Regions from separate parts of the Homo sapiens genome. Here region 2 is linked to region 1. The links are contacts of gene promoters, found by promoter capture Hi-C in human tissues and cell types (Jung and others, 2019). All regions are on one chromosome and are shown on one strand. Each heading gives the region's core, a stretch centred on a gene start or on the middle of the fragment in contact. The rest is flanking DNA. Distances are from core to core; before and after follow the strand shown. Region 1 holds the start of KCTD4 (potassium channel tetramerization domain containing 4). Region 2 overlaps GTF2F2 (general transcription factor IIF subunit 2).

Region 1 (6,094 bases), core at 3,579-6,078:
GTGTTTTTGCTTAGAGACTGTGAAATTCAACTTCCTCATTTCACCAAAGATAACATTGCATTCCAGAGAATTTTTAGTATTTTATCTAGGACTTCACAGCAAAGCCAACATTTTGACTAAAACGTCCTTTACTCCTGCAGCACTTAATAAGACTTACTCTTATATTCTGACAATCTCATGTTTGTCTTGATTTTGCTTTTTTAGATTAAGTCTTTTCTGTCAATACAACTTTTTAAGAAATACTGAATAGATTTTGAGGGAGAAGGGATACAACTCTGGAAGTACATTCATGGAATTCTTGTGTTACCATTACAAATAGTCACTGCACATGAGTAGCATCATATAATAGCAAAATCAAAAAGGCATAACAATTTCATTTATAGGTATAGTCCTCTTTTTTTGAACTTTATAGGATACCAGAATTAGTACAACATAACTGTAGTATAGTGATGGAGACTGTGCTAGCATGTTCTTGTTTAAATAAAGTGATGTGGATAGATACTATGTACTCTGGGTCTGCTTCCTTACACCCTGTTTGGCCTGTCTATAGATGTCTTCATGGGAAGCCCCAATGCTGTTGCTGTTGGAGGATAGGCTTCCATGAGGTGATGAGAAGGCAGGAGTGAGTCAGGACAGCTGGAAGTGGGACTGCTGACCTTCAGTCATCACCCCAGGGCCACCTTACACTTCCTAGCTCACTCACTTTTGGTTTCTCCTGCCAGGTTTTCAAAACCACTGATGAGTGCTCGTTTCTGCAGGCTTGCCTGAACAGACTCTGAACCATTCCATCTTGTGCCTCTTCTCCTTGATTGTTTTTTCTCACTCTAGACTTCACTCTGGTGTTCTTCTGCAAAGTTGACATGTGTGATTTCTTTGCCACCCATGGCCTGGCAACAGTAGTATAACTGAAGCTTTGTCTTAGTGCCTGGCTTATACAAATCCATAGGACTTTTGTGTCCTCTTTGGCCCAACTTGCAGACTTAAAGAAGAAAAATGTAGGCCGGGCATGTTGGCTTATGCCTGTAATCCCAGCACTTTGGGAGGCTGAGGCGGGCAGGTCACTTGAGGCCAGGAGTTTGAGACCAGCCTGGCCAGTATAGGGAAATCCTTTGTCTACCAAAAATTAAAAAAAAAAAAAAAAATTAGCTGGGGTGTGTTGGTGTATGTCTGTAGTCCCAGTTACTTGGGAGGCTGAGGCAGGAGAATCGCCTGAGCCCGGGAGGTGGAGGTTGCAGTGAGTGGAGATAGCGCCACTGCACTCCAGTCTGGGCAACACAGTAAGACCCTGTCTCCAAAAAAAAAAAAAAAAAGGCACCCAGTAGGCCCCGCTGTATGCCTAATACTCCATATTACCTCCAGCAAAGCAAGATGACTGTAGTTCATGGAAATTATAGGAGTTCATTGATCATTGCTGCCTGTGGTGGTACACATGCCCCTTAGGAGAAAGCCAGATTATCTCGTTTTAGTCTATTCTAAATTTATATTTACTTGCTAGGGGGTGGCGAGTGGGTGTTGCTTGTCCAAGGTAATATCTGTAAGGTCTCCACAGCCCTAAAACTATAAAAATGGTGCTTCAGTACCTATACCAAGGGAGACATCCCTGGATCATGGGACTATGTTTCTCTGCCTTGCAGATACAAACCGGAACTGCTCAATTTAATGGTTTCAGCAGAAGGGTTTAAACCACACATGTCAAAGATTAGCTTACCTGGATCCACTTGGCCACTAGATTTGAAGATTTTATCTGCCTTTGCAGGCAAAAACATATAAAAATTTGAAAGATTGGGGTCCTGTTTCCTACTCAGTACCTTAACTCTTTATTAGAGTTAGATCACCTCTGTCTTAGACAGCTTTAATCATATATAACCAACTTTGAGAATTTAAACTGGTCCTTAGTATGAGTATATCCTATAGTTAATTGGGTCCAATGCCTAACTAAACTCTGGCAGAACCTTCCACTATGAGGTAATACTAATGTCCTACCATCTGCATAAGGCAGAACTCATTCCAGCAGGAATTCCCATCTTTTTACCAACTCCTTATGGGAAATGAGGTCTTTGTCATCCCGTGATTGATGCAGGACATCATTGTAATATATACACTTGCTCCATTTATATGCCAGAGATACTCCCATGCCATGGAAGGAAGTGAAACCTTACCAGGAGGTTATCCCTCCCGACTGGAAGATACAAAAAGTATGATAATTCTCCTAGACTTAACAGATCATTCCTCTATAAAATTCAGACACTCTTCAAGGAAAAGGAATGGTTTTAGAAGCTGCGTTTGATAAGAACAGGGAGCTTCTGTCTCCACATTCTCCCCTGCTATCAAATCTTGGTTGTTGTCAGCTGCATGCTTCTCTGCTTGTCTTTTAAAAGGATTTCATTCCCATTACCTTAGAAAGAAAGTAAAAGCTAGAGAAGCTGCTGTCAACTTTTTACTTAAATCTGACAGTATATCTCTGCCTTGGACTTGCCCACATTTTTTTTTTGTTTTTTTGTTTATTGATCTGTGTTTTGACCTTCCTCTGCCTTTCACAAGCTGAGTTTCTTTTTTTTTAACATGTACTTGCTTCATTGCCTCTTGTCAATAGCACTGAATGTAAGAAACATTCATTTTGATATTGAGGTATGAATATTTTGTGTTGGCTTCTTTTGTGTGTTAAAAATAAAAATTACACTGTCTAATTATTGACATGTTTTAAGAATCAAGGATTTTCCCATGTTAATGTAATTCTTTTTGAGTGTCCAAATTTTAGTTCTATTTTGAAATATAAAATTTATCTGCTCTAAATGTTGTCTGCTACTGGTATTACACTAACAAAAGTACTATGGCAGCCACTTTATGTAACTGATTGACCACAGCATCTCACAAACTGTGCCAAGTACTTGAACCTTCCTAGGACTAATAGGACGTAACCTCTGGCCACAAGGTCGTGTGAACATGTCATTGCAGTCCAAAGAATACAGCTGTAAATATTTTGCAGTGTTGAACTGCGTCTTCAAGGAAGCCCAGGAAAATTGCCTACATTGGTAAATGTTTTAGCTTCATTTGAGGAGTATAGAAAAACATAAGGCACTATGTGTCAAAAGGAGCACAAATAAAGACAACAGACTAGCTCAGAAGTTCAGGTGAAATTCCATTCCACATTTCTTTGATTTTCACTACAGAGGCAATCTTGACAATTTATAAGTCATATTAATTCATGTTTTACATGTACTTTGGAAAATGAGTATTTCAGGGAAACCTGTGTTTTATAATTTTGTAAGCAGAAGTCATACCTTAAGTTTTTTAAAAATGAAGTTTTTTTTTGAAATATAACCTGTGCGTTATTATTTACTGGAAAATTCTATTGTAACCAGATGAGCATAGCACTTATGTAAGCCATCAAATGAACATTAAAATTATAATATTGTACAGAACTCATTTTTATAGTGCTATTTGGCAAAATGCAATTTTACTTTCTCTTTGGGAAGAAGATATTTTAAGCTAATAACCATTATCTACAATCTCAAAATGAAGGGCATAACTTTGAAAACTCTTGTAAAGGTAGTACAGTTAGGAAGTAAATGACTAAAGAGGGTCTCTGTTACCGTATACTAGCGCCTGCCACTGTTCCTTCTGATTTTCTCATCACTTAACATCTGCTTGTGTCTTCAGTGATGAGGTGGTGTGGAGAAGAGAGAAGAGGATCTGAACAGGAGAACAGGATGTGATGGCTCAAGGGAGCAAATGTGGTTTCTTACAGAGTAGGGAGGAGTTATAAACTAGGGATGGAGAACTCTATCATATCACACATTTTTTTCATATTTACCATTTCTATAACTGAGGTACATCTTAATATCGTTAGCTTGTCAAAGTTTAGCAGCAGTATTTTGTCTTGGTGGCACGTAAAATAATGGTTGCTATTACAAATGATAGCATCTTATAGTTGATGAAATATTTGAGCAGCTCTGTGAGCTATTCCCTCCGTATCACAAGAAAGTAAAATTAACAGACAGGGAGGAGGGAAAGAATTTTGCAGGGAGATGAGAGAGAGAGGGAGAGACAAAACAATGTGGCTGCTTGATGTTAAAATTAGGCAAATTATTTTATAACTTTTATAAAATTAAATTTTATTTTTTGATACAGGGTCTTGCTCTGTCACCCAGGCTGGAGTGTATTGCAACCTCAACCTCCTGGGCTCAGGTGATCTTCCTGCCTTAGGAAACTCCCGTATAGTTGGGGCCACAGGCATACCCCACCATACCTGGCTAACTTTTTTATCTTTTTGTGGAGACTGGGTCTCACTTTGTTGCCCAGGCTGGGCTCAAGCTATGCTGCTGCCTCAGCCTCCCAAAGTGTTGGGATTACAGATGTGAGCCACCATGCGTGGCAAAATTCCTGAAGATCAAATAGAGATCAGAATATTACTTCACAAGTAAAGAGCAGCTTTTTAATAATACAGGGATAGAAAGTTTGCCTAACTGGTTTGTTAAGATGCTAGTACCTTTTATTAGTAGACCTCAACTCAGAACCACAGGCAAAAAAACTTCTAGGAACATATTTTAAATGAGAAGAAAGGAGACTACTAGGAATATTAAAAATGGTTTGCCTTTTAAATGTACCTGCTTCTTGAAAAGATTATTTCTTCAGTCTTTTCCCAGAGAGTGTCGACACAGGTGTGATGTAATTAAGAGTCAGGAGAGTAAGGAGAGTAACTTCGAGGTCTGGAGGATCAGCCTGAAATGTTGGTCAGTAGTCCTCTGGTCTGGGTTTTTACAGGAGCTGGAAGTTCTCTTAAAGGCCTCCACATTCAGCTGGATCCAGAAGGTCTTGTGGAAATGAATGAGTGTAACTTCCTGATGCCTAAGACTTCCTAACATACTTGATTTCATTACTTACATGCCAATGCTAATAAGCAGTGTTGCTGCTTGCTTATTCCTTTAACTTCTTCAAACTAGGGATGCCCTTAACTTTTTAAAAAAAGTGCCAGTATCATTTCTCCTCAGTTCTTTGACATAGAGTGTATGTCAAGTTCAGATATAGGGCAGGATAATCCAGCATAGAGCACAAATTTAAATATTTTCAAGCCTTGGGCAGCTTCTTAACATTTTGTTATTCTCTTTCTATTCAAAGAAAATTTAATTATATCTAGGTCTTTTGGAAAGTACTAGAGCAAACAAAATAACACTAATGAAATAATAAAACATCCCCAGTTGGAGAGGAAGGCTAGCATTTTTATTTAGTGAAAGAGACCTAGAAGAGATCTCAGACATTCTAGTAATATCATTATTATGGATGCTGAGGCCCAGAGATGTAAAATAACTTCTCCAAAGTAACACTGCTGTTTAGTGACAGAATCTTAACTAGAAGCCTTCAGTTCTTTTTATAGGATGTGCTTTATATACATAACCTTTAAAATTTTCTCTCGAGTTTTTTCTGATTTTAGGTGGTGGGATATACATAAATTACCATCATCAAAGATGTGTGTTCATACTCAATAAGATTCTTTTGGTTGCAAGTAGCAGAAACCAGTCAACAAACCAATCTAGCCAAAAAAGGAGTGCGGGGGAGAATTTAGAAAGAATCCCATACTATTTCCCAGAATCCAAAGAAGAGCAAATGGCCAAGGAAAAGATATGAATTGAGCCATTCCAAAGCCTTTGGTAGGATGAGTTTGTGTGGCTTCTCTGCAGAGTGCTGGCAAGACCATGTCCTTCTAGTAATTGGTGGTGTGAGCCCCTTAGTTGAACATTTCAAGCACAAGAGCGAGCAAGCACAGACACACAGAGGCCATTCCTACCACCTTCAGTACTCTTCCTTCTTACCCCCACCCACCCCAGTCTAAATCCTACCCATTTTTCAAGGTCCAGCACAATCATTGCTTATTCTTCAAAACTCTTCTTGGCCTGGCGTGGTGGCTCACACCTGTAATCCTAGCACTTTGGGAGGCTGAGGTGGGCGGATCACCAGAGGTCAGGAGTTCAAGACCAGCCTGGCCAACATGGCAAAACCCCATCTCCACTAAAAATACAAAAATTAGCCTGGCGCAGTGGCACATACCTGTAATCCCAGCTACCCAGGAGGCAGAGGCAGGAGAATCGCTTGAACC
Region 2 (5,921 bases), core at 239-2,738, 77 kb before region 1:
GCTAAATAATGTTTCTTCCTAGGATATCTCACGGTTTATAGATCATCTTGTACATATTTAATTCCATCACTAGACAGGTATAGAACTGTGTAAATACAGTAAGAACTATACATACAAGATCTCTGAGAGTTTTGAGCGGGAAAAAAATTAGTGCTTCACCAGAACTGGGAAGACATCATAAAGAAGGTGACGTTTAAGAAAAGCCTATTTGGAGGTTGCAGTGAGTCAAGATTGTGCCACTGCATGCACTCCTGCCTGGGCGACAGAGTGACATCCTGTCTCAAAAAAAAAAAATGGATGTGAGTGTGATCTGTCTGGGACATCTGTCACCCCATTGATTACTAGGGTTGATTTGGCTAATCTGGCTGGCTAGGCGGGTGTCTCCTTCCTCCCACACTGCTCCATGTATGTCCCTCCCGAAGCTGCACGCTTGACCAAAGAGGATGACCATCCGGATAGAGGAGGACTGGTCTTCAGTCAAGGGTATATGTATGGTTGTACTCCCCTGCTAGAACCTCCAAAGAAGCTTTCAAGAAGAGCTTATGGCAGGCCGGGTGCAGTGGCTGATGTCTGTAATCCCAGCACTTTGGGAGGACGAGGTGGGCGAATTGCTTGAGCCCAGGAATTTGAGACCAGCCTGGGCAATATAGCAAAACCCTTTATCTACAAAAACTATAAAAAGTTAGCTGGGCGTGGTGGTGTACGCTTGTAGTCCCAGCTACTTGAGAGGCTGAGGTGGGAGGATCACTTGAGCCTAGGAGGTTGAGGCTGCAGTGAGCTGAGATCACACCCCTTGTACTCCAGGCTGGGCTACAGAGTGAAACCCTATCTAAAAAGAAAAAAAAAAAAACAACCAAAACCTACGGGCAGGACTGGGGATAAATAGTGTGTTTAGGGAAAAACAAATATAGTAGTAGATTGTTTACCAAAATAACAAAATATCCAGGACCTGTACTGTTCTGGCCTAATGAAGTGCTATTTCTGGAATTTTGAATTTTTTTTTTTTTTTTTTTGGCTGAGCACAGGGGACTTTATTGATGGCACATGACAAGGCAGGGCTCCCTAGGCCCCTCCCTCTTCAGGGGGTCTGCATGGAAGCTGTGAGGAGGGGAGAGTCTTAGTGTGGTTGGGGACTGAGTATGGCAGGGACTCCCCAGCATTGAGGGTCTCTCTCTTCCTCTTGTTCTGTCACTGGGGCTGGTGGTCCAGGGGTCTTACTCCTTAGAGGCCATGTGGGCCATGAGGTCCCCCACCCTGTTGCTGTAGCCAAATTCATTGTCTTACCAGGAAATGAACTTGACAAAGTGGTCGTTGAGGGCAATGCCAGCCCCAGCATCTAAGGTGGCGCGATCTCGGCTCACTGCAAGCTCCACCTCGTGGGTTCAAGCGATTCTCCTGCCTCAGCCTCCCGAGTAGCTGGGACTATAGGTGCCTGCTACCACGCCCGGCTAATTTTTTGTATTTTTAGTAGAGACGGGGTTTCACCGTGTTAGCCAGGATGGTCTCGATCTCCTGACCTTGTGATCCACCCGCCTCTGCCTCCCAAAGTGCTGGGATTACAGGCGTGAGCCACTGCACCTGGCCTCCCCACTGGCCTTTTTAAAAAATTATTTTTGCGGCCAGGCATGGTGGCTCATGCCTGTAATCGCAGCACTTTGGGAGGCCGAGGCGGGTGGATCACCTGAGGTTGGGAGTTGGAGACCAGCCTGACCACCATGCCCAGCTAATTTTTGTATTTTTAGTAGAGATGGGGTTTATTTTGTTTGTTTGTTTGTTTTTGTTTTTGAGATGGAGTCTCACCCGGTCACCCAGGCTGGTGTGCAATGGCACAATCTCAGCGCACTGTAACCTTTGCCTCCTGGGTTCAAGCTATTCTCCTGCCTCAGCCTCCCGAATAGCTGGGATTACAGGTGTGTGCCACCACACCCACCTAATTTTTTGTATCTTTAGTAGAGATGGGGTTTCACCATGTTGGCCAGGATGGTCTTGAACAGCTGACCTCGTGATCTGCCTGCCTTGGCCTCCCAAAGTGCTGGGATTACAGGCATGAGCCACTGTGCCCAGCCAAGACAGGGTTTCACCATGTTGGCCAAGGTGGTCTTGAACTCCTGATTTCAAGTGATCCACCCACCTTGGCCTCCCAAAGTGCTGGGATTATAGATGTGAGCCACCCTTCCCGGCTAGCTTTCATTTTTTCACAGACAGGCAAGCGCTTGGACATTGGTGGCCAAAGAGAAAGTTATATACAAGGGAGAGATGAAACTGGAATGGGTGATACCCTAAAGCCTTGCAGATAGTAGGAGAAAAAGGAACTTAACATTTCTTGTGTAGCGAGTATTTTGCAAAGCAAACCGGTAAAGTAGGTATTAATTACCTGTATTTTTCAGATGATAAAATTTAAGGTTAGGGAGGTTAATTATCTTGCCTAAGCATGGAAATAGTGATTCAAATTTGTTAGGCTAAAAGCTTTGCCATAGAAATTTTTTTTCCCCTTTGCGTCTCTCTGTTTTTTTTTGTTTTTGTTTTTGTTTTTGTTTTTTTGAGACGGAGTGTCGCTCTTTTGCCAGGCTGGAGTGCAGTGGCGCAATCTTGGCTCACTGCAACCTCCACCTTCCAGGTTCAAGCGATTCTCCTGCCTCAGCCTCCCGAGTAGCTGGGGCTACAGGCGCGGGCCACCACACCCAGCTAATTTTTGTATTTTTAGTAGAGACGGGGTTTCACTGTGTTGGCCAGGATGGTCTCAATCTCTTGACCTCGTTCGTGATCTGCCCGTCTCGGCCTTCCAAAGTACTGGGATTACCGGTGTGAGCCACTGTGCCCAGCCCCCTTTGTGTCTCTTTAATGGGTTATCTCCCTAGAGATTCAGAGGTGAGGTGGGGACTTCATTTTTATGTCTTTGGTCTTGTCAGTTCTGTATCTTGAAGTTCAAGGAAACATGGGAATAAATGCTGCATGTCATAGATTGGGTTCCCTGAGCAGCTGATTTTGAGATGGAGACAGGGATTTATTAGTGAGTACTCTTGGGATCAGCATGTATGGAAGGAAAAGGATTTAAGCAAGATTGGGTAGAGCATGTAAGGCAGTCTCAGTGAAAAGCCAGGATGATTCCACAGGAGCCCTCCAGAGCTGTCCTCCTGTCCCAGCCAGTCAGTGGATATGGTTTGCCCCAGTAAGTGGGCGTGACCTTGAGCAAGGGGTCTTTCTTTAGTGGAGGCAATTTCAAAGAGGCCTAATAGCTGAGGGCTGTCTGCTGGCCACACTCTCAGCAGCTGTGGGAATAATGCCCTCAGTGCTGAAGGGGGAATCTGGGTGTCACATCATGATGTCCACTTCAGTGCTTTTAATTTTCTGGGAGAAACAGGGCTTTAGAGGCTAGCAGTTGGGGAACTAGATATTTGATGAAGCAAAGTTGGCAAAGAAGCACCTTGGCTTCAAAGGGAAGAACGACTTTTTTTTTTTTTTTTTTTTTTTTGAGATGGAGTTTCGTTCTGTTGCCCAGTCTGGAGTGCAATGGTGTGATCTTGGCTCACTGCAAGCTCCGCCTCCCGGCTTCAAGCGATTCTCCTGCCTCAGCCTCCTGAGTAGCTGGGATTACAGGCGTGCACCACGACTCCTGGCTAATTTTTGTATTTTTAGTAGAGACGGGGTTTCACCATGTTAGCCAGGATGGTCTCAAACTCCTGACCTCGTGATCCCCCTGCCTTGGCCTCCCAAACTGCTGGGATTACAGGCGTAAGCCACTGTGCCCAGCGACAAGAACCACTTTCTTATGCTGCCCAGTTTGAGTGAATGGGTGGGCAGATTGATTCATCCCACAAGCTTTCAGTGATTGCTAGGCTCTAAGTATGTTACAGTGAACAAAACGGACATGGTATATATACTGTGTAAACTACGACTTATAGCCCAGTATAGGAGACAGACATCAGTCAAATATTGGTCTTAACGAAAACAATTATTTTCAGAGAAGGACACTGAAGCAAGGAATATTGTTTCTGTGCATGTGAATAGCAAGGGACTTGTCCTGGTCTAGGAAGTCAAGGGAGGTTTCCTTGAGGAAATAATGCTGTAGTGAGTTATTTTCTGTCACTTTCTCTGGTATTGGGAAATCTAAGCAACCATACCCTGTTGTACTTATTACCTTGTCTCCATCTGATTTTCAGTAATGAGTGAGATAGTGGAAATAACACAGATACATCGTAAGTGATATGTTGACAGTGGTGTTTTGGAGCCTTGAAACCATATATACTGTCATTTTTTTCTTCCTCTCCCTCCCTCTTTTGAGACTTAATAGGCCGGGACTTCTGGGAAGCCAATTTCTGTAAGTTCGTGGTGTAGAGAGTTATATATAATTAATGTGCTATTATTATTATTTTTTATTGCAAGGGTGTAGTATTTTAGGAACCTTTGAATTAAATAAGCTGGTGGGCTTACCTGGGAATCTACAGTTTTATTATAATAATGAAGACAGTGCAATATGAGCTGCAAACTTGTTTTTGTCCATTAACTTATGGAGCACAATCTGCTTTTTTTTTTGGTCTTTCTTTTTGAGACAGGGTCTCACTCTGTCTCCCAGGCTGGAGTGAAGTGCTGTGAATTCGGCTCACTGCAACCTCTGCCTCCTGGGCTGCAGTGATCCTCCTGCCTCAGCCTCCTGAGTAGCTGGGACTATAGGCATGTGTCACCACGCCCAACTAATTTTTTTTTTTTTTTTTGTAGAGACAGGGTTTCACCATGTTGCCCAGGCTGATCTCAAATTCCTGGACTCAAGCAGTCTACCCACGTTGGCCTTCCAAAGTGCTAGAGTGTTGGGATTATGGCATGAGCCACCACCCCTGGCCTTGTTTTTTTTTGGAGACGGAATCTTGCTCTTGTCGCCCAGGCTGGGCGTGCAGTAGCACGATCTTGGCTCACTACAACCTCCGCCTCCTGGGTTCAAGTGATTCTCCTGTCTCAGTCTCCCGAGTAGCTGGGATTACAGGCGCCTGCCACCACGCCCAGCTAATTTTTGTATTTTTGGTAGAGACGGGGTTTCGCCATGTTGGCCAGGGTGGACTCGAACTCCTGACCTTGTGATCTGCCCGCCTCAGCCTCCCAAAGTGCTAGGATTACAGGCATGAGCCACTGTGCCTGGCACCCCGGCCTTTTTTTTTTTTTTTTTTTTTTTTTTTTTTTCTTTTTTTTTGAGACGGGTCTTGCTCTGTCACCCAGGCCGGAGTGCAGTGGCGCGATCTCGACTCACTGCAAGCTCTGCCTCCCGGATTCACGCCATTCTTCTGCCTCAGCCTCCCGAGTAGCTGAGACTACAGGTGCCCGCCACCATGCCCGGCTAATTTTTTGTATTTTTAGTAGAGATGGGGTTTCACCATGTTAGCTAGGATGGTCTTGATCTCCTGACCTCGTGATCCGCCTGCCTCAGCCTTCCAAAGTGCTGGGATTACAGGTGTGAGCCACTGTGCCCGGCCTCCCCCCTGGCCTTTTTAAAAAATTATTTTTGCGGCCGGGCACAGTGGCTCACGCCTGTAATTGCAGCACTTTGGGAGGCCGAGGCGGGCAGATCACGAGGTCAGGAGTTCGAGACCAGCCTGACCAATATGGTGAAACCCCATCTCTACTAAAAATACAAAAATTAGCTGGGCATGGTGGCGGGCGTCTATAATCCCAACTACTCGGGAGGCTGAGGCAAGAGAATCACTTGCACCTGGGGGGCGGAGGTTGCAGTGAGCCAAGATCATGCCATTGCACTCCAGCCTGGGTGACACAGTGAGACTCCGTCTCAAAAAAATAAAATTTATTTTATTTTATTTTATTTTTTGAGAAAGAGTCTCGCTCTGTCACCCAGGCTGGAGTGCAGTGGCATGTGATCATGACTCACTGTAGCCTCCAACTCCTGGGCTCAAACGATCCTTCTGCCTCAACCTCCC

The links. The method cuts DNA at HindIII sites, captures the fragments that hold promoters and counts their contacts. A contact is called where the count stands out against the background at its distance.
Region 2: a fragment that was not itself captured here is called in contact with the fragment with the promoter of KCTD4 in region 1 in 6 of the 25 tissues and cell types used here (H1 embryonic stem cells, IMR-90 fibroblasts, dorsolateral prefrontal cortex and 3 more).

What each region holds. Positions count from the first base shown.
Region 1 is chr13:45,196,217-45,202,310 of GRCh38, forward strand. KCTD4 (potassium channel tetramerization domain containing 4) reads right to left here and starts at 4,829. Exons shown (of 2, transcript NM_198404.3): 1 at 4,608-4,829. The region is part of intron 4 of GTF2F2 (general transcription factor IIF subunit 2); the gene reads left to right. The HindIII fragment of the contact is 9,631 bases long and covers 1-6,094 here.
Region 2 is chr13:45,122,798-45,128,718 of GRCh38, forward strand. The region is part of intron 1 of GTF2F2 (general transcription factor IIF subunit 2); the gene reads left to right. It also overlaps the pseudogene RN7SKP4. Among named protein-coding and RNA genes, the nearest start is that of GTF2F2, 5.2 kb to the left of the region's middle. RefSeq lists a silencer at 941-1,134. The HindIII fragment of the contact is 3,307 bases long and covers 1-3,142 here.